Regions from separate parts of the Homo sapiens genome. Here all the other regions are linked to region 2. The links are contacts of gene promoters, found by promoter capture Hi-C in blood cells and fetal thymus (Javierre and others, 2016). All regions are on one chromosome and are shown on one strand. The core of a region is centred on a gene start or on the middle of the fragment in contact, and the rest is flanking DNA. Distances in the headings are between cores, read along the strand shown. Region 1 overlaps NUP155 (nucleoporin 155). Region 2 holds the start of SLC1A3-AS1 (SLC1A3 antisense RNA 1). Region 3 overlaps SKP2 (S-phase kinase associated protein 2). Region 4 holds the start of CPLANE1-AS1 (CPLANE1 antisense RNA 1). Region 5 has its middle 3.4 kb from the start of NUP155. Region 6 overlaps NUP155 (nucleoporin 155).

The links. The method cuts DNA at HindIII sites, captures the fragments that hold promoters and counts their contacts. A CHiCAGO score of 5 or more calls a contact.
Region 1: a contact is called between a fragment that was not itself captured here and the fragment with the promoter of SLC1A3-AS1 in region 2, in 3 of 17 cell types (erythroblasts, fetal thymus and megakaryocytes). The highest score is 7.8, in erythroblasts.
Region 3: a contact is called between a fragment that was not itself captured here and the fragment with the promoter of SLC1A3-AS1 in region 2, in 1 of 17 cell types (neutrophils). The highest score is 5.8, in neutrophils.
Region 4: the fragment with the promoter of CPLANE1-AS1 here is called in contact with the fragment with the promoter of SLC1A3-AS1 in region 2 in 7 of 17 cell types (activated CD4 T cells, fetal thymus, erythroblasts and 4 more); the score reaches 7.9 in activated CD4 T cells.
Region 5: a contact is called between a fragment that was not itself captured here and the fragment with the promoter of SLC1A3-AS1 in region 2, in 3 of 17 cell types (erythroblasts, naive B cells and total B cells). The highest score is 7.9, in erythroblasts.
Region 6: a contact is called between a fragment that was not itself captured here and the fragment with the promoter of SLC1A3-AS1 in region 2, in 1 of 17 cell types (neutrophils). The highest score is 5.2, in neutrophils.

What each region holds. Positions count from the first base shown.
Region 1 is chr5:37,309,309-37,312,008 of GRCh38, reverse strand. It overlaps NUP155 (nucleoporin 155), which reads left to right. Exons shown (of 35, transcript NM_153485.3): 23 at 1,266-1,457. Among named protein-coding and RNA genes, the nearest start is that of NUP155, 60 kb to the left of the region's middle. The HindIII fragment of the contact is 616 bases long and covers 1,030-1,645 here.
Region 2 is chr5:36,723,844-36,726,543 of GRCh38, reverse strand. It overlaps SLC1A3-AS1 (SLC1A3 antisense RNA 1), which reads left to right and starts at 1,356. Exons shown (of 2, transcript XR_007058736.1): 1 at 1,356-1,430. RefSeq lists enhancers at 2,359-2,628, 2,669-2,700. The HindIII fragment of the contact is 5,384 bases long and covers 1-1,972 here.
Region 3 is chr5:36,160,256-36,162,955 of GRCh38, reverse strand. All of the region lies in intron 2 of SKP2 (S-phase kinase associated protein 2), which reads right to left. Among named protein-coding and RNA genes, the nearest start is that of SKP2, 9.5 kb to the right of the region's middle. The HindIII fragment of the contact is 2,530 bases long and covers 99-2,628 here.
Region 4 is chr5:37,247,675-37,250,374 of GRCh38, reverse strand. It overlaps CPLANE1-AS1 (CPLANE1 antisense RNA 1), which reads right to left and starts at 1,329. Exons shown (of 2, transcript NR_134263.1): 1 at 1,154-1,329. CPLANE1 (ciliogenesis and planar polarity effector complex subunit 1) reads left to right here and starts at 999. Exons shown (of 53, transcript NM_001384732.1): 1 at 999-1,130; 2 at 2,630-2,700. The coding sequence starts at 2,677. RefSeq lists silencers at 679-1,158, 1,359-1,498. The HindIII fragment of the contact is 6,498 bases long and covers 1-2,700 here.
Region 5 is chr5:37,373,127-37,375,826 of GRCh38, reverse strand. No RefSeq gene overlaps it. Among named protein-coding and RNA genes, the nearest start is that of NUP155, 3.4 kb to the right of the region's middle. The HindIII fragment of the contact is 2,807 bases long and covers 1-2,694 here.
Region 6 is chr5:37,355,847-37,358,546 of GRCh38, reverse strand. NUP155 (nucleoporin 155) reads left to right here. Exons shown (of 35, transcript NM_153485.3): 4 at 396-466. Among named protein-coding and RNA genes, the nearest start is that of NUP155, 14 kb to the left of the region's middle. The HindIII fragment of the contact is 8,560 bases long and covers 1-2,700 here.

The sequences.
Region 1 (2,700 bases), core at 88-2,587, 590 kb before region 2:
CATTCTGTCACCCAGGCTGGAGTGCTGTGGAGCAATCTGAGATCACTGTAACCTCCACCTCCCGGGTACAAGCAGTTCTCCTGCCTCAGCTTCCCGAGTAGCTGGGACTACAGGCATGTGCCACAACGCCTGGCTGATTTTTGTAGTTTTAGTAAGAGACCGGGTTTCGCCATGTTGGCCAGGCTGGTGTTGAACTCCTGACGTCAGGTGATCTACCTGCCTTGGCCTCCCAAAGTGCTGGGATTACAGGCATGAGCCACCATGCCCGGCCAAAAGGATAATATTTTAAATCTGTGATTCCTTCCCCAGTTACTAGCTGCAATTCTGTAAAAAAAAAAAAAAAAATTCTTTTTCCTTGTCCTGTATGGATATTTCATTACTCTGAAACACTTACTTTTTGACTCTCGTATACCATTTTTCAACGTTGGAAGGCAGTCTCCTCATTCTTTCCACTAGTGTCCAATGAATAGTGTGGCTTTTGTTGGTGGTTTTGTTTCTTTTAAATACATACTGTTTTTTATTTTTAAAAATTCAAGCTAATATATTTAATTATGAAACTTATCTTTTTCATACCAAGTAGAATAATAATTTTGAGTTTTATAGAGTGATAAATATATTGTAGGTAGGTTTTTATCCTGGGTATGTTTTTGTGATCCATCTTCAAAGCTCTCTTCCTTACATCACCAATGGCATGCTCAATGAATGCAAATTAAAGATTTGTTCAAGAATTTTAACACAGTTTGGGTATTTCCTTGAATTTAGAAAAAAGAGATAGCAGTCACATCACTAACAGAATCTTTTACTATAGTATAAATCAATACTTTAGAGCTTCATTTGGACAAGCAGATTTGTTCACAATACAGATTAAACTCCAATATTATTATAAGGCCTAGAATAATGGAATTCTAACAGTGTTTAGGAAGGAGTAATATGTAAGCCCAAGATTTTCAAATATAGCCAAGTGATTGTTTTTTCCATTTTATAACCAAAGCCAGGAGATCTGACTCTAGTTTTGGCTCTACTTAAGCTTTACTTTTCTCATTTGGAAAGTGAGAGTTTTGGACTAGATCTACTGTAGGTTCTTTTCCAACTCTCTATGATTTTATGTAAGTTCGCAAAAATTTGTTTCTACTAATTAGTATATTTTCGCTTTTCAATTATAGAGTCTATTAATATTTAGGTTATTTTAATTTATTAAAATAATTTCATTATGTTTAGAAATATGGTATTTCTATAATTGTGATAGAAAAGTTTTATGCTCCTAGGAACTTCAAGAGCAGCTGAAGATCACCACCTTTAAAGATCTTGTAATCAGGGACAAAGAACTCACAGGGGCATTAATTGCTTCTCTTATCAACTGCTACATCAGAGATAATGCCGCTGTTGATGGCATTAGTTTACATTTACAGGATATCTGCCCACTTCTATATAGCACTGATGATGCAATTTGTTCTAAGGTATGATACTTTATTACCTATTTCATTGTTTGTTATAAGAGGTATCATGTATGATGAACCATCTTGTTTCACTTAATATAGGACCTCAGTCAGTTAGATCTCTTAACCTCTCCTAGCCTCAGAATCCTCATCTAAGAAAGGGGTTGGAATATGTGGCTTCTTAAAACCAGTGTATACTCTTTTAAGCTTAGCTTTTCTTTTTAAAAATATTTTTATTTATTTATTTGACACAGGGTTTCACTCTGTTGCTTAGGCTGTAGTGCAGTGCTGTGATCATAGCTCACAGCAGCTTCTAAGTCCTAGACTCAAGCAGGCCTCTCATGTAGCTAGGGGCTACGGGTGTGCACCACTACACCCAGCCAATTTTTTTGTTTTTTATAGAGACAAGTTCTGATTTGTTGCACAGGCTGGTCTTGAACTCTTGGCTTCAAGTGATCCTCCTGCCTCAGCCTCCCATAGTGCTGGGATTATAAGTGTGAGCCACCATGCCCAGCCCTCCTTTAAGTTTTTCATAAAGAATATTCTCTCTTTTTTTTTAAGACTGAGTACGATCTCAGCTCACTGCAACCTCCACCTCCCAGGTTCAAGTGATTCTCCTGCCTCGGCCTCCCAAATAGCTGGGATTACAGGTGTGCACCATCACACCTGGCTAATTTTTTATATTTTTGGTAGAGACAGGATTTCACCATGTTGTCTAGGCTGGTTTTGAACTCCTGACCTCCGCCTGCCTCAGCCTTGCAAAGTGTTGGGATTATAGACATGAGCCTCTGCGCCTGGCCCATAAAGAATCTTTGATAGTGTTTCTAGGCCATATTAAAAAACCAAAGGTGAGAAATTAAGAAAAATCACTAAATTTAGAAATTAAGGAAATTTAGGGGATAATTTATCTCCTTAGCTTAAGGAAAAGTACTAAAACTTCAAGTAAATCTTTTAGTGAATTAGAGTTAATGGGGGCATTTTTATTGATCCTTTCCTACAGGTGGAAAAAATAAATAAATCAGTGTCACATGGACTGCCTGCTGCCCAATAATGTATTGACTAGGCAAGAGAATTACCAGACAAAAGTTCTCTTGCTTAACATATTTGGGAGAGGAATTAAGAATAGCTAGGAATCTTTGGTCAAAAACTTTTCTGCCTAAAATTAAGAAGTAAGTTTGTAGAGTTGTTTTCATTTTAATGGTAATAACCATATATAAATTTAGACATAGACTAAAACTTAGTTGACAGCATCATCTGTCTGCTT
Region 2 (2,700 bases), core at 107-2,606:
ATGAAGTGTAATACAAGGGGCAAAGGATTTGGCATCCTTTGGTCATGGAGTGCTGCTCAGATATGTACTATAGAAACCATTCTGAAGCATTTCAAAAGACATCCAGTTTCTCCTCTGTATACTGCAAAATCTTGGGCTTAGGTTCTGGCATTTAGTCTATGACAAATGATTGCTGGCAAAAGTTGAATGAAGCAGTTAAGAGTATGGGTTTGCAGTAAGATCCAGGTTCAAATTTACACCTTTCCATGTACTACCTGTGTGACTTTGGTGAAATTATCTTCTCCAGGCCTTAGGGTGAAATGTATGTGAGAATGCATGAAGCCTGCCACGTGGTTAATATTAAGAGTGATAACTCATATTATCATTGATGGAGGTGAATGAAAGAAATGGAGTAACACGCTTTTAAAACACAGTTTCCCCTCCATTATCATTTCAACCACTTTAGATGAAAATATTGAGGGATACATCCACAATTTCTAGTTAATTAAAAAATATCAGGAGGTCTTAGTAGATTCTAGATTTTTCCTTCAATGAAATGAGTTGTTAAATAAAAGGCCTCCATAAGTACAGGGTCTTGTCGTTGGGCTCTATCTTATGAGCGGTGGATCTGCCTCCCAGGAAGGTAGGCAGACACCAGTGAGGCATCTGGTGCTTGGGATGCAGCGAGTGGAGCCAAGCAGAGAATGATCAGATCCGTTTGCCTGGAATTTCTGCATTTGCTGCCCCAAACATCTGGAGCCAGGCTACCCAGTGCAGATGGAAAATAGCAAAATGCAAATTCCCTGGGTTCAGCTGAGGGAAGCCAAGGCAGACAGAGTCTGAGAAGGCGGATGAAAGGTGAGCCAAAACAAAAGCCCTGGCGGGTGGTGGGGCAGCGTTTTATCTAGAGCCTACGGCCCCCGGTAAGGACAGGAGATGAGAGAAGGGACCTTAGAGCTACTTGGGCCACCTTCATGTTCGTACTCATCCCCCTCCTTAACAGCCTGAAAGGGAGCCTGCTGGGCTTACGGCAGCCTCCCTGTCCTCTTCCTGATGCCATGCCTGCTCCATTGCTTTGCTTCTTCTGGATCCTGTTTCGCCCTCTCCCTCAAGAAGGAGATCCTGAAATAGATCCTGAGTCAATGACTCAGGTGCAAGTGCTTTATTAAAGAAAGGCTCCCAGAAGAAATCTACTTGCACCCGAATCATTGACTCAGGATCTCCTTCTGGGAGAATCCAAGCCAAGACAAGACAGACAACCCAACCAACTGAGCTGCTCACAGCTTCAACTGCTACAACCCTGGAAAGGATTCTGATTGGCTAGCTAAGGGTCACATGCCCAAATGGGCCTTTGATTGGCAGCTGTTGCTTCCTTCCTACTCCCTCCCACACACCCAGGAGCTCCAGCCTGTTATGGGATGGGCATCCTACCAGGAACCAAGGATGCTAAGGTAAGCAGTCCTTGCCCTCATAGGTTTACTTATACTTAAGGGGAGAGAACCGTTAGTCAAATCACCCCACATACAGATCTTTACACACTATGAAGGACAAGCACAGGGTGCAGTCAGTGGGAGGGGCCCAGAACGGGAAGTGCCATGCTGGCTGCTGCTGTGTGGAATGGGCTGTAAAGAGAGCAAGAGTGAAAGCCACAGCAGGGGAGCTGGTCAGAGATGGCAGTGGCTTTATTAGAGTGGTGGCCCTGGAGTTGGAGACAGGTGGGAAAAACTCAAGAGCCCTCTAAGGAACCGACCCATGGCAGTCCATCGCCACCAAGTCCCTCTTACCACTCTAGGTTTAAAGAAACCCAAAAAACAAAACTACGTTGCAACTGCACTGCTACACCAGGAAACCTAAGGGGGAACAAAAGAAAACTTAGTAGTGCCCTCTAGGCTGAAGATTTGACCTATTATTTACTAACCTTTCCCTCCCTCTTCCTTATTTTCAACAAATCTCCTGCCATCCATTTTGAATTCTTCTCTAAATAGAGAAAGCTTTCTTTCTCAGCTTCATTTAAATGTCCACCATGGTATTTACCCATGTTTTCTTGATTTTTATTTCTTTTTGGGGCGGGTATCTAAAAGATAATCTGATCCCTGTTCCTGATTCTGTAGGTGACAGAGAGAAGTGGTTTTCTCATTTTTTTGTGTGTGAAATTATTCGCATATGAGGAAAAGATAGCTCAAAAATAGAAGCTCTTTCATTATCTCTCCACAATGTAGTGTGGCCCCAAGTGACTATTTTGTGGAGACACGGTAATTTGGGGTGGCTAAATCATTACCCCGAGGTGTGTCAGATGCTGCCAAGACCTCCTTCATTCATGTGGCCAAGACTGTGGGCTTCCTGGCTGGGGAGGCAGAGGCCCTGCTCTTCTGCTGCTAACCTTGGGGTCAGCGAGCCCTGATCCACACTTCCTCTGGGCAACATCAATGGGGCTGCTGAACATATTGAGCCAGACTTGTTTCCAAGAGATAGAAGGAACTAGAGCATTGGGGAAAGTCCCAAGTAACTCTAGCCCTCAGCCACCTGCTGTGGCTGAAGATGAAGTCTCTGCAGCTTCAAGAATCCAACTGGCTGGTGCACATTGTTCTCATTGGCTAGATCATTCCTCCATGTAGCACTTCACTAAACTCATTAACAAATATTTACAAATGACATTGCTTTTTGGGGTCATGTATATTTCAGTCTTCAGAATCCATCAGGCACTCAAATCCCTTGGCAGTT
Region 3 (2,700 bases), core at 114-2,613, 560 kb after region 2:
AAGATCTTATGGTTTTACAAGTGGCTTCCCCGACCCCTTTGCTCTGCACTTGATGCCGCCATGTGGAGAAGGACGTTTGCTTCCCCTTCCACCAAGCTTGTACGTTTCCTGAGGCCTCCCCAGCCAGGCTGAACTGTGAGTCAATTAAACCTCTTTCCTTTATGAATTACCCAGTCTTGGGTATGTCTTTATTAACAACATGAGAACAGACTAATATGCTTTCTTTCAGGTTTACAAAAGGCACAGTTTACCTAAAAGAGCAATACAAAAGGGTATTGTCATTTCTTAATTCAACAAATATTTACTGAGCTCCTACTATGGTGCCAGGTATCATTTTAGGTGTTGGGAAGGAGTAGTAAATCAGACCCAAAACACTACCTTCGTGGGACTTCATTCCAGTAATGCGGAACAGATAATCACACATCAAAAAATAAGTACATTATATGATATAGTAAAATTGATCTGTGCTGTGCAGAAAAATTAAACAGGGCAAGGGAGAGAACAGAGAGTTCAGAGCAGATGTTATTAAGTTTGAACATGGTGGTCAGGGAAGGCCATACTGAGATGACGATCACTAAGCAAAGGCTTGAACAAAGTGAGGGAGTGAGCCCTGTGAGTATCTGGTGTACGTGTTCTAGATCCAAGGAACAGCATGTGTGTTTGAGGCATAGCAAGGAGGCCAGTGTAGAGCGCAGAGGTAGGTGGGTAGAAAAATCAGAGAGCAGCCAGGTCATGCAGGCTTCCTAGGTCATGATAAAGCCTTTGGCTTTGACGCTGAATTCTATGAGGCACCACTAGAAGATTCTGAGCACAGGAATGACAGGCCCTCACGTAAGTTCAAAAAGGATCACTCTGGCTGCTGTGTTTAGAACAGAAAGGTGGATGCAGGAAGCGCAGTTTTCTTTCATAGAAGCAATCTCTAAATAACTATTCAACAAGTATGAAACTCTTACATATGAATACATAGAATAATCCCACAAGCTCAGGATAATGTAACAATTGCCAAGAAGGAAATAAATGCACAATGAAGGAATCCTAAAAAACAGTCAGATGAGTTCAATGATTGCCTTCCTAGGCTTTCCACCTCTGATGGATCTTCTACACCAATTCTGGTGATATTCTCTCCTCCTACTCCCATTTAAAGGTGCCAGTCTTTACTGAGCATGTCCTTTGTACCAGGCCCTGTATAAGTGGGTTTGAGGACACAAGGGAGAAAAACACCGAGGAGTGTGACAAACACCTGCTGCCCTGGGCAGTCTTTCTAAACCAGCATGTCTTTCCCCCAGTTAGAATCCTTCAGTGGTACACCCCAGGTATTTAGGCTAAAGTCCACAATGCTTAGTACAAAGTTAAACGCTTTCAGCCAGGTCTCAACTAGTTTTCCTAGGTTTGTTATCTAGAAATGTGTTCCAGCCATTTGGAGCTACCTGTAATTCTTAGAATGAGTCATTCTGTGCCGTATCTCAATGCTTTTGCACATCCTGTGCTTGCCTCCAACTACTATTCATTTAAAATCAAATGGAAGCCCCAGTTCCCACAGAAGGCCTCCCGTGACATCAACAAGGACAGGCCACTTATGTACCATAATTTCATTATTTACTTACTCATCTCTCTAGACCCCCAGGAGCTCTTGAGAAACAAAAACGCTTTTTTTTTTTTTTTTAACAATTTTTGTATTTTCAGGAACTAGCATAAAATTGATACATTCATCCACTCCCATATTTATAAAATATGTACTATACACTGAGGTCTATTCTAGGTTTTAAGGACACAATGATAAATAAGGCACAATCCTGACCCTTATTCTGCTCAGAGTTTGAGAGATATAGACAAACAGGAAACTTCAATAACCTATCCTGATGGGCTACAGTAGGATTCGGGGTGCTGTGCAGCTTATGGGAATGGCGCAGGGGTTAGGGAAGCCTTTCTGGAGGAAGTGGCCTCTCTTGAAGAATGAGTAGGAGATACACAGTTGTTCAATGAATGCCTGTTCCCCTAGCCTCACGCCCTTCAGGGGACAAAATTAAAGGACTGACTGAGGCCCTGAAAGCTAGGGGTAGAAAGCTGAAGGCAGATCACCCCTGCTGATCTGGGGAGGCAGCTGGAGGTTGTGAGGAGGCTCCTCGACGTGGCAGCTGTTCCATCACTGCCACAAAGTTCCTCCAAAGTCAACATGGGCAGGGGACAAAGGTTCTCAAACCAGGCTCTTGCCCTGCTCCCCAAATTGAAAACAAAGTTGAATGACAGGCTTTTCTCAAGTTTTTCTCCCATTAATCCAACTCTCTCAGACCTCTGCTGCCTCTTACATATCTAGATCAGAATCTAGTAATTGATTGGGCATAACTATATTTAGCTATAAGTATAGTCATCCACTCACGTATTTATTAACCATGTACTATATACACTGAGGTCTGTTCTAGGTTTTGGGCCACAACAATAAGTAAGGTACAATCCTGACCCTTATTCTACTCTGAGTTTGAGAGATACAGACAAACAATTAAACAGGAAATTTCAATAAACTATCCTGATGGGCTACAGCAGGATTCAGGGTGCTGTGCAGCACATGGGAATGGTGCAGAGGTTAAGGAAGCCTTCCTGGAGGAAGTGGCCTCTATGGAAGAGTAAGCTTAACTATACTTCAATAACATACTTAGCTATTTTGAATCTAATATGTTGAGATTTTACTATAATCTGTAAAAA
Region 4 (2,700 bases), core at 80-2,579, 520 kb before region 2:
GTGGGAATAGGTTAGGATTTCTCAGTTTCCAAATTTTTCTGTGAGACTTTTATGCTAACTCTAGCACGGCTTATGTAAAATGTTCGTGATTTGGGGGTGGATCTAAACCACCTCAGATCTATAACCTCTGAGATAAGTGGGGCTGAGCTGCCAGAATGCCATCCGCCATTTATCCCACCCAGAGACACAGGGGTAATTGTGGTTCTGATGCAGCCAGTTCGCCTACCCTGTAACGCTTATTTGCTAAAATAAACCAACCTAAGAGCTAGCCATCCAATGCAGAGGGCAGGGCCATTTTCGGTGCAGAACATACCTGGCCTAGCCAAGGGTGACAGGGTCCTGCCTTCAAAAACAGGCCAGTCACATGAAAGAGTGAAGATGGGCGCATGTGGAGGAGGACAACAGGCCACTGCCTGAGGCCTTCACATTTAAGCTACACAAAAATGCTTTTCCAGGTGAGCAGAGCTCTCGGGCTGCCTGCTTGTGACCCCTGCTCCTGTCAGTCACGAGAACAGGGCGAAGGAGGCGAAAACAGTGCGGAGAATAAGTCCGTAGGACAGTGAGTTCGGAAAATGCCTTCTTCAGTGTTCCAAGGTGCCCACGTGAACTGAGGAGGGCAGAGCAAAACCCCTTATTTTCGGGTCTGTGCAGGGTCCCCGCTAGGAAGGGGCAGCCCTTGAGTTTCATGTTGGTCGGTTATTAAGCGGCTCCCCCGTGAGCCCCGCCCAATGCCTGTGCGCTCAAACTAGCAGCGTCCGAGGAACGCGTTAACTGGGAGAAGTGAACTGAGGGGGTCCGGCGGCCGCTGAGGAGGGGAGCGCGCGGGAGGAGGGGCGAGGAGCCCGGAGGCGGGCGCGGCTGGCAGCTTAGAGGGCCCGGGCGGAGGCCTGAGAGCAGGGCTGGAGGGGCGGAGGACCGGGGAGACCCGCCCGCGGCGTTCCCGGCCGGTTCTGAGCAGGCGCCGTGGCAGCGCCCGCGCCCCCTGCCCGCCCTCCGCCGTCGCCAGGACGCAGGCTCGCGTCAGGGCTGGCGGTAGGGCCCGCAGCTGTCGGCCTGGCGTCTTCACCCCGCGCAGTCGGCCTCGCCTAGCCTTCTCGCGCCTGACTGGCCGGACCCTGCCCCTGGCGGAGGTAACTGCCCGCGGATTCCTTACCCCGCGATCCTGGCCTCCTCGTAAGCTCCCCGGACCCGGGCGTCCTCGGTCTCCCCTCATCTACTCTTCTGTCGGGCAGGTCCGCGACCTTCCGCCTCCCGGGCCGTCTCCCGCCGCACCCGGCCCTGGTACATCCCCACTACCCAGTCCGGGCCCGTCCTCGCTCTGGGCCTACCCCAGCCTCCCAGCGTCGCCTGCTGACGGAGCGCGGGAGCCCCAAGGGGCCGGGGTCACCCGGCCGGCGTGGGTGGTGCCAGGCTCGGGCCACACCTCGGCACCGGACCCGAGTCCCCCAGCTTCTCGAGCAGGATCCGGAGGAATAGAACGTCAATTTTCCTCGCTCTTAGCAATTTTAAGATTGACTAATGGATTTAGGGTATGTCAGTGCATAAAGTTCCCAGTATTTTTTCACTCAATAATTTTAGCAGCGCTGATACTATTGACTGGATTTGTTATTTCATTAGGAGCTGCAAATGATGCTTTTCTAATGCCGGCGTTTCTCTGGCATTTGGTTAACCCTTTTGTGAGAATTTATTTTATTTGCAATTTTATTTATTTATTTTTGAGCCGGAGTCTTCGCTGCGTTGCCCACGCTGGAGTGCAGTGGCTCTCACAGGCACAATCACAGCTCACTGCAGCCTCGAACTCTCTTGTCCTCAAGCGATCTTCCCATCTCAGCCTCCGTGCTGACTGATAGCTAGCATCTTGATAGATCTTTGTGTGCTGTCTCTGAGTAGTTTTTCTTTTAAAGCTATTTTATTAAAAAAACAAAAAAACAAGCCCATCTAATTTGGCCGGGCACAGTGGATCACGCCTGTAATCCCAGCACTTTGGGAGGCTGAGTCGGGCGGATCACCCAAGGTCAGGGGTTCGAGACCAGCCTGGCCAACATGGTGAAACCCGGTTTCTACTAAAAATACAAAAAAATTAGTCCGGTGTGGTGGTGCATGCCTGTAATCCCAGCTACTCGGGAGGCTGAGGCAAGAGAATCGCTTGAACCCGGGAGGCGGAGGTTGCAGTGAGCCGAGATCGCGCCACTGCACTGCAGCCTGGGCTACAAGAGCAAAACTTCAACTCAGAAATAAAATATAAATCAAAACTTTATGAAAATTGTCAGTTAAGATCTTCAGTGGTCCATGCGCAGTGGATCGTGCCTGTTATCCCAGCACTTTGGGAGGACGAAGTGGATGGATCACTTGAAGTCAGGAGTTTGAGACCAGCCTGGCCAACATGGTGAAACCCCATCTCTACTTAAAATTAGCCAGGCGTGGTGGCACACGCTTGTAGTCCCAGCTACTCGGGAGGCTAACGCAGGAGAATCACTTGAATCCGGGAGGCGGAGGTTGCAGTGAGCTGAGATCATATCACTGCACTCCAGCTGGGGCAACAGAACGAAACTCTTGTCTCAAAAAAAAAAAAAAAATGCCCAGTGAATATTATGCATCATTTATATTTTATTACTATTATTGTTTACAGAATCTTGGGACTGTTTTACTTAATTGGTCATTGATAGCTTAACAAACATGGAGATAAGATTAGAAATCTTG
Region 5 (2,700 bases), core at 42-2,541, 650 kb before region 2:
GTCCCTCTTTGTCTTTCCCTGACTGCATTCCTTGACCTCCAGGTGCGCCAGATGCCCCGCCAGGCATGTAAGTAATAAAATCTTTGTTTATATCTGTGTTTCTACTAATCATTGAAGAAGCATGCTCTATCTTAAAATTCCTAAATTAAAACAGTCCCTTAAAATAAATCAAGGCAGTAGGATTCAAAATGTTGTAGTAGTCACTGTATTTTTCAGTTACATAGGCGTTGTAAGCAAAATCAGTTTCCCTTAGGAATATCCTTAATAAAGCCATAAACAGTATTCATTTCGTTAAACCCTGACCCTTAATTATACGTCTTTTTAACCTTCAGTATGACAAAATGAGAAGTAATCATAAAGTATGTTTTTAAAAAAATTTCTTACAGATGGGGTCTCACTGTGTTACCCAGACTGGAGTGCAGTGGCTATTTACAAGTTCAGTCATGAAGCACTTTAGCCTCAAACTCCTGGACTCAAGCGATCTTCCCCTGCCTCAGCTTCCTGAGTAGATGGGACCACAGGCATACGCCACCATGCCCAGCTAATGCATATCTAAGTAGAATGGTCATCGAAAAGAAAACCACTTGTAATTGAGTGGTTAGCTTTTTTCATGGAACATTATTTTTACCTGAAAGAATGACTCACAAAGTACAGTTGTTCATATTTAAGTATTTGGCAAACATTTTTTCAAAAATAAATGAAATGAGTTTATCACTTTAAGAAAAACAGGTCAGGCATGGTGGCTTACACGGGTAATCCCAGCACTTTGGAAGCCGAGGTGGGAGGATCACCCAAGGCCAGGAGTTCGAGACCAGCCTGGCCAACATGGTGAAACCCCGTCTCTACTAAAAATACAGAAAATTAGCCAGGCGTAGCTGGGTGCGGTGGCTCACGTCTGTAATCCCAGCGCTTTGGGAGGCCAAGGCGGGTGGATCACCTGAGGTCAGGAGTTCAAGACCAGCCTGACCAACATAGTAAAACCCCCGTCTCTACTAAAAATACAAAAAAATGAGCTGGGCATGGTGGTATGTGCCTGTAATCCCAGCTACTCGGAAGGCTGAGGCAGAATTGCTTGAACCTGAGAGGCAGAGGTTGCAGTGAACAGAGATCATGCCACTGCACTCCAACCTGGGCAACAAGAGCAAAACTCCATCTCAAAAAAAAAAAATAAAGAAAAGAAAATTAGCCTGTAATTCCAGCTACTCAGGAGGCTGAAGCAGGAGGATTGCTTGAACCTGGGAGGCAGAGGTTGCAATGAGCTGAGATCGCACCATTGCACCCCAGCCTAGGCGACAAGAGCAAAACTCTGTTTAAAAAAAAAAAAAAACTGACTGCACTTGTTGACAATTATTAAAATACTTCTTCTTTTTCTAAATATGTAACTGAGGCCAGTTTTTCCTTCTTTCTTTCTTTCTTTTTTTTTGAGACAGAGTTTCGCTCTTGTAGCCCAGGCTGGAGTGCAATGGCACGATCTCAGCTCACTGCAACCTCCGCCTCCCAGGTTCGGGCAATTCCCCTGGCTTAGCCTCCCAAGTAGCCGGGATTACAGGCTTGCGCCACCATGCCCCACTGATTTTTGTATTTTTAGTAGAAACGGGGTTTCACCATGTTGGCCAGGCTAGTCTCGAACCTCTGACCTCAGGCAATCCACCCGCCTCGGCCTCCCAAAGTGCTGGGATTACAGGTGTGAGCCAGCGCGCCTGGTGAGGCCAGCTTTTCTTAATATTAATATATTATACTTCAACTAAATAAGTCACAAAATGTTGACATGTTAGACAAAGTAGCAAACATAAAAAACCAAGTTTGCTCATTCTGCTTGCCAGCAGAATTTCACAAAGCCCAACTCAGTGACTAAGTATAGACTTCTAGAAGAATGCCCTGGAAACAATAAGCAGGTTAGAGCACAGGTTCCCACGTCTCTTGCTTCAATCAATGCATTTTTTAAAAAAAGGTAAGTTCAGTGTTCCTACCCCTTGCCTCTTCCAGTACATAAGATAGTGTCCCATAGGATTCATGATTATGCCTCTGTAATCTATAACCAGATGTACTCTTACACCCAAACTTTGATGAGATTTTGCTCTAATGTAATTTATGAGCTTTTTTTTTTTTTTTTTTTTTTTTTTTTAGAGACAGAGTCTCCCTTTATCAACCAGACTAGAATGCAGTGGCATGGTCATGGCTCACTGCAACCTGGAACTCCTGGGCTAAAGTGATGCTCCTGCCTCAGCCCACCAAGTAGCTGGGACTACAGGTCCACACCTGGCTGCCCAGGTTGGTTTTGAATGCCTGGCCTCAAGAGACCCTCATGCATAGGCCTCTCAAAGTGCTAGAATTACAGGTGTGAGTCACTATACCCAGTTTATGAGCATGTTTAATGTAATTTCTGAGCACATGCAGAGCTTCCAACCCCTGACATGTAAGCTGTGGGCTAAAAGCTACTTTGGAGCAGTCTTAACAGAAACTCTCTGAAAGGTTGCAATCCTGAGTCTGAATCAAACTGACTTTAATTCTTTAAAAGAGGGTTATTTTTCTTCAATTGACAGCAGATACAGATATGAGAATCCAGCCATCCGTTACTGAGCCAGACACTAAAGAGATTTGCAAAAATATGAAATAATCGCATTCTTCTCCCTGTTTTAGAAACTATAGTGATTTCTCATTTTAAAAAAGTGTTATATTAACATGGATTAAGCTTGGTAT
Region 6 (2,700 bases), core at 130-2,629, 630 kb before region 2:
CCTTGTCTCAAAAATAATAGTAATAATAATAATAAAGATCATTGTAAGATAATACTTGGTTTTCTGTTTTTCTTTTCTTTTCTTTTTTGAGACAGGCTCTCACTTTGTCACCCAGGCTGGAGTGCAGTGGCATGATCACTACTCACTGCAGCCTCAACCTCCCAGGCCTTTGCGATCCTGCCAACTCAGTGGCCTCACACCCCCATGCCTGGCTAATTTTTTGTTTCTTTTTTGTAGAGACAGTCTCACTATGTTGCCCAGGCTGGTCTTGAACTTCTGGGCTCAGGCAGTCCTCCTGCCTCAGACTCCCAAAGTACTGGGATTAAAGACATGAGCCACCACATCTGGCCTATTTGCTTTATATGTGTAACATGTTTTTCTTCATTTATTCACAGAGGAGACCTTGCCTATTTTGATGGACTTAGTGAGACTATTCTTGCTGTGGGGCTTGTGAAGCCAAAAGCAGGTAAGAAATAAAACTATAAGGAAGAGATTATGTTTGTATATGTAAACTCCAAATGGTATAGACCTGAACAACAACACACATTTTTTTCGAGATGGAGTCTCGTTCCATCGAGTAGGCTGGAGTGCAGTGGCGCAATCTTGGCTCACTGCAATCTCCGCCTCCTGGGTTCAAGCAGTTCTCCTGCCTCAGCCTCCCGAATAGCTGGGATTACGGGCGTGCGCCACCACACCCAGCTAATTTTTGTATTTTTAGTAGAGACGGGGCTCCGCCATGTTGGCCAGGCTGGTCTCAACTCCTGACCTCAGGTGATCCGCCCGCCTCAGCCTCCCAAAGTGCTGGGATTACAGATGTAAGCCACCGCGCCTGGCTGACAACACCCTTTTTTAAACAATTGTATTCTCCATTGAAGTTTTATTTTGAATTCTAATTAGAAATATGTAAAGTGATTATTAATGTTTAACTGTTTACTTTAATGGTATAAGTGACACTGCCTTTAAAAATGTTAAACTGTAATTTTTTGAATTTTATTTTATTTGCTTTTTACTGCTCTTTCTTGATATACCTGAAGGTTTTGCACTATAGATTTTTCATTAATTGCTGAATTTAATGTTAAGAAAAATTTTAGTGTCTGCATTTTATTAGTCTGTCTTTCTCTTTTTTTTTTTTTTTTTTTTTTTTTTTGAGATTAAGGTCTTATACTCTATCACCCGGGCTGGAGTGCAGTGGCATGATCATGGCTCACTACAGCCTCAACCTCCCAGGCTCAGGAGACCCTCCCACCTCAGCCTCCCAAGTAGCTGGGACTACAGTTTTGTGCTACCACACCAGGCTAATTTTTGTAGAGATGGGGTTTTGCCATGTTGCCCAGGCTGGTCTTGAACTCCTGTGCTCAAGCAATCCACCCACCTCAGGGATGCTGGGTTAACACTTGTGAGCCACTGCACCTGGCCATTTTTTTAGTCTTTTTCTTTTTTGAGACAGAGTCTCGCTCTGTTGCCCAGGCTGGAGTGCAGTGGCGTGATCTCCGCTCACAGCAGCCTCCGCCTCCCAGGATTGAGCGATTCTCTTGCCTCAGCCTTCCAAGTAGCTGGGATTACAGGCATGTGCCACCATGCCCAGCTAATTTTTATATTTTTAGTAGAGCAGGGTTTTGCCATGTTGGCCAGGCTGGTTTTGAACTGTTGACCTCAGGTGATTTGCCTACCTTGGCCTCCCAATGTGCTGGGATTACAGGCGTGAGCCGCCGTGCCCTGGCCATATTCTTGATGGCCCGTGGAAGTGAGAACAGAGTTTAGAGTAAATCTTAGAAACGTCACAAGCATTGTTTAACTTATTGTTTCACCCTCATAATGCCAAATCTCTTATCAGGGTTACTGAGAAGGAGAATTGATTGATTTAAATTTAAAATATATCCTTTAAATGTACCTTTCTTTTTTTTTCTGTTACAGAGTCTCACTCTGTTGCCCAGGCTAGAGTGCAGTTTAGCCACCTTGGTGCTCACTGCAGTCTCGCCTCCTGAGTTCAAGCGATTCTCCTGCCTCAGCCTCTCAAGTAGCTGGGATTATAAACGCATGTCACCACGCCTAATTTTTATATTTTTAGTAGAGACAGGGTTTCGCCATGTTGGCCATGCTGGTTTCGAACTCCTGACCTCAGGTGATCCTCCCACATCGGTCTCCCAAAGTGCTGGTATTATAGGCATGAGCTGCCATGCCCTGGCCATAATCCTGATAGCCCATGGAAGTGAGAACAGAGTTCAGAGTAAATTAAATCTTGTAGATATCACAAGCATTGTTTGACTTACTCTTTCACCCTCATAATGCCAAATCTCTATTTTTTTTTTTTTTTTTTGAGATGGAATTTTGCTCTTGTTGCCCAGGCTGGAGTGTAATGGCGTGATCTCGGCTCACCGCACCCTCCGCCTCCTGGGTTCAAGCGATTCTCCTGCCTCAGCCTCCCAAGTAGCTGGGATTACAGGCATGCACCACCACGCTTGGCTAATTTTATATTTTTAGTAGAGATGGGAATTCTCCATGTTGGTCGGGCTGGTCTTGAACTCCCGACCTCAGGTGATCCGCCCACCTCGGCCTCCCAAAGTGTTTGGGATTACAGACGTGAGCCACCATGCCCAGCATAATGCCAAATCTCTTATCAGAGTTACTAGGAAGGAGAATTGATTGATTTAAATTTAAAATATATTCTTGGCTGGACATGGTGGCTTGAGCCTGTAATCC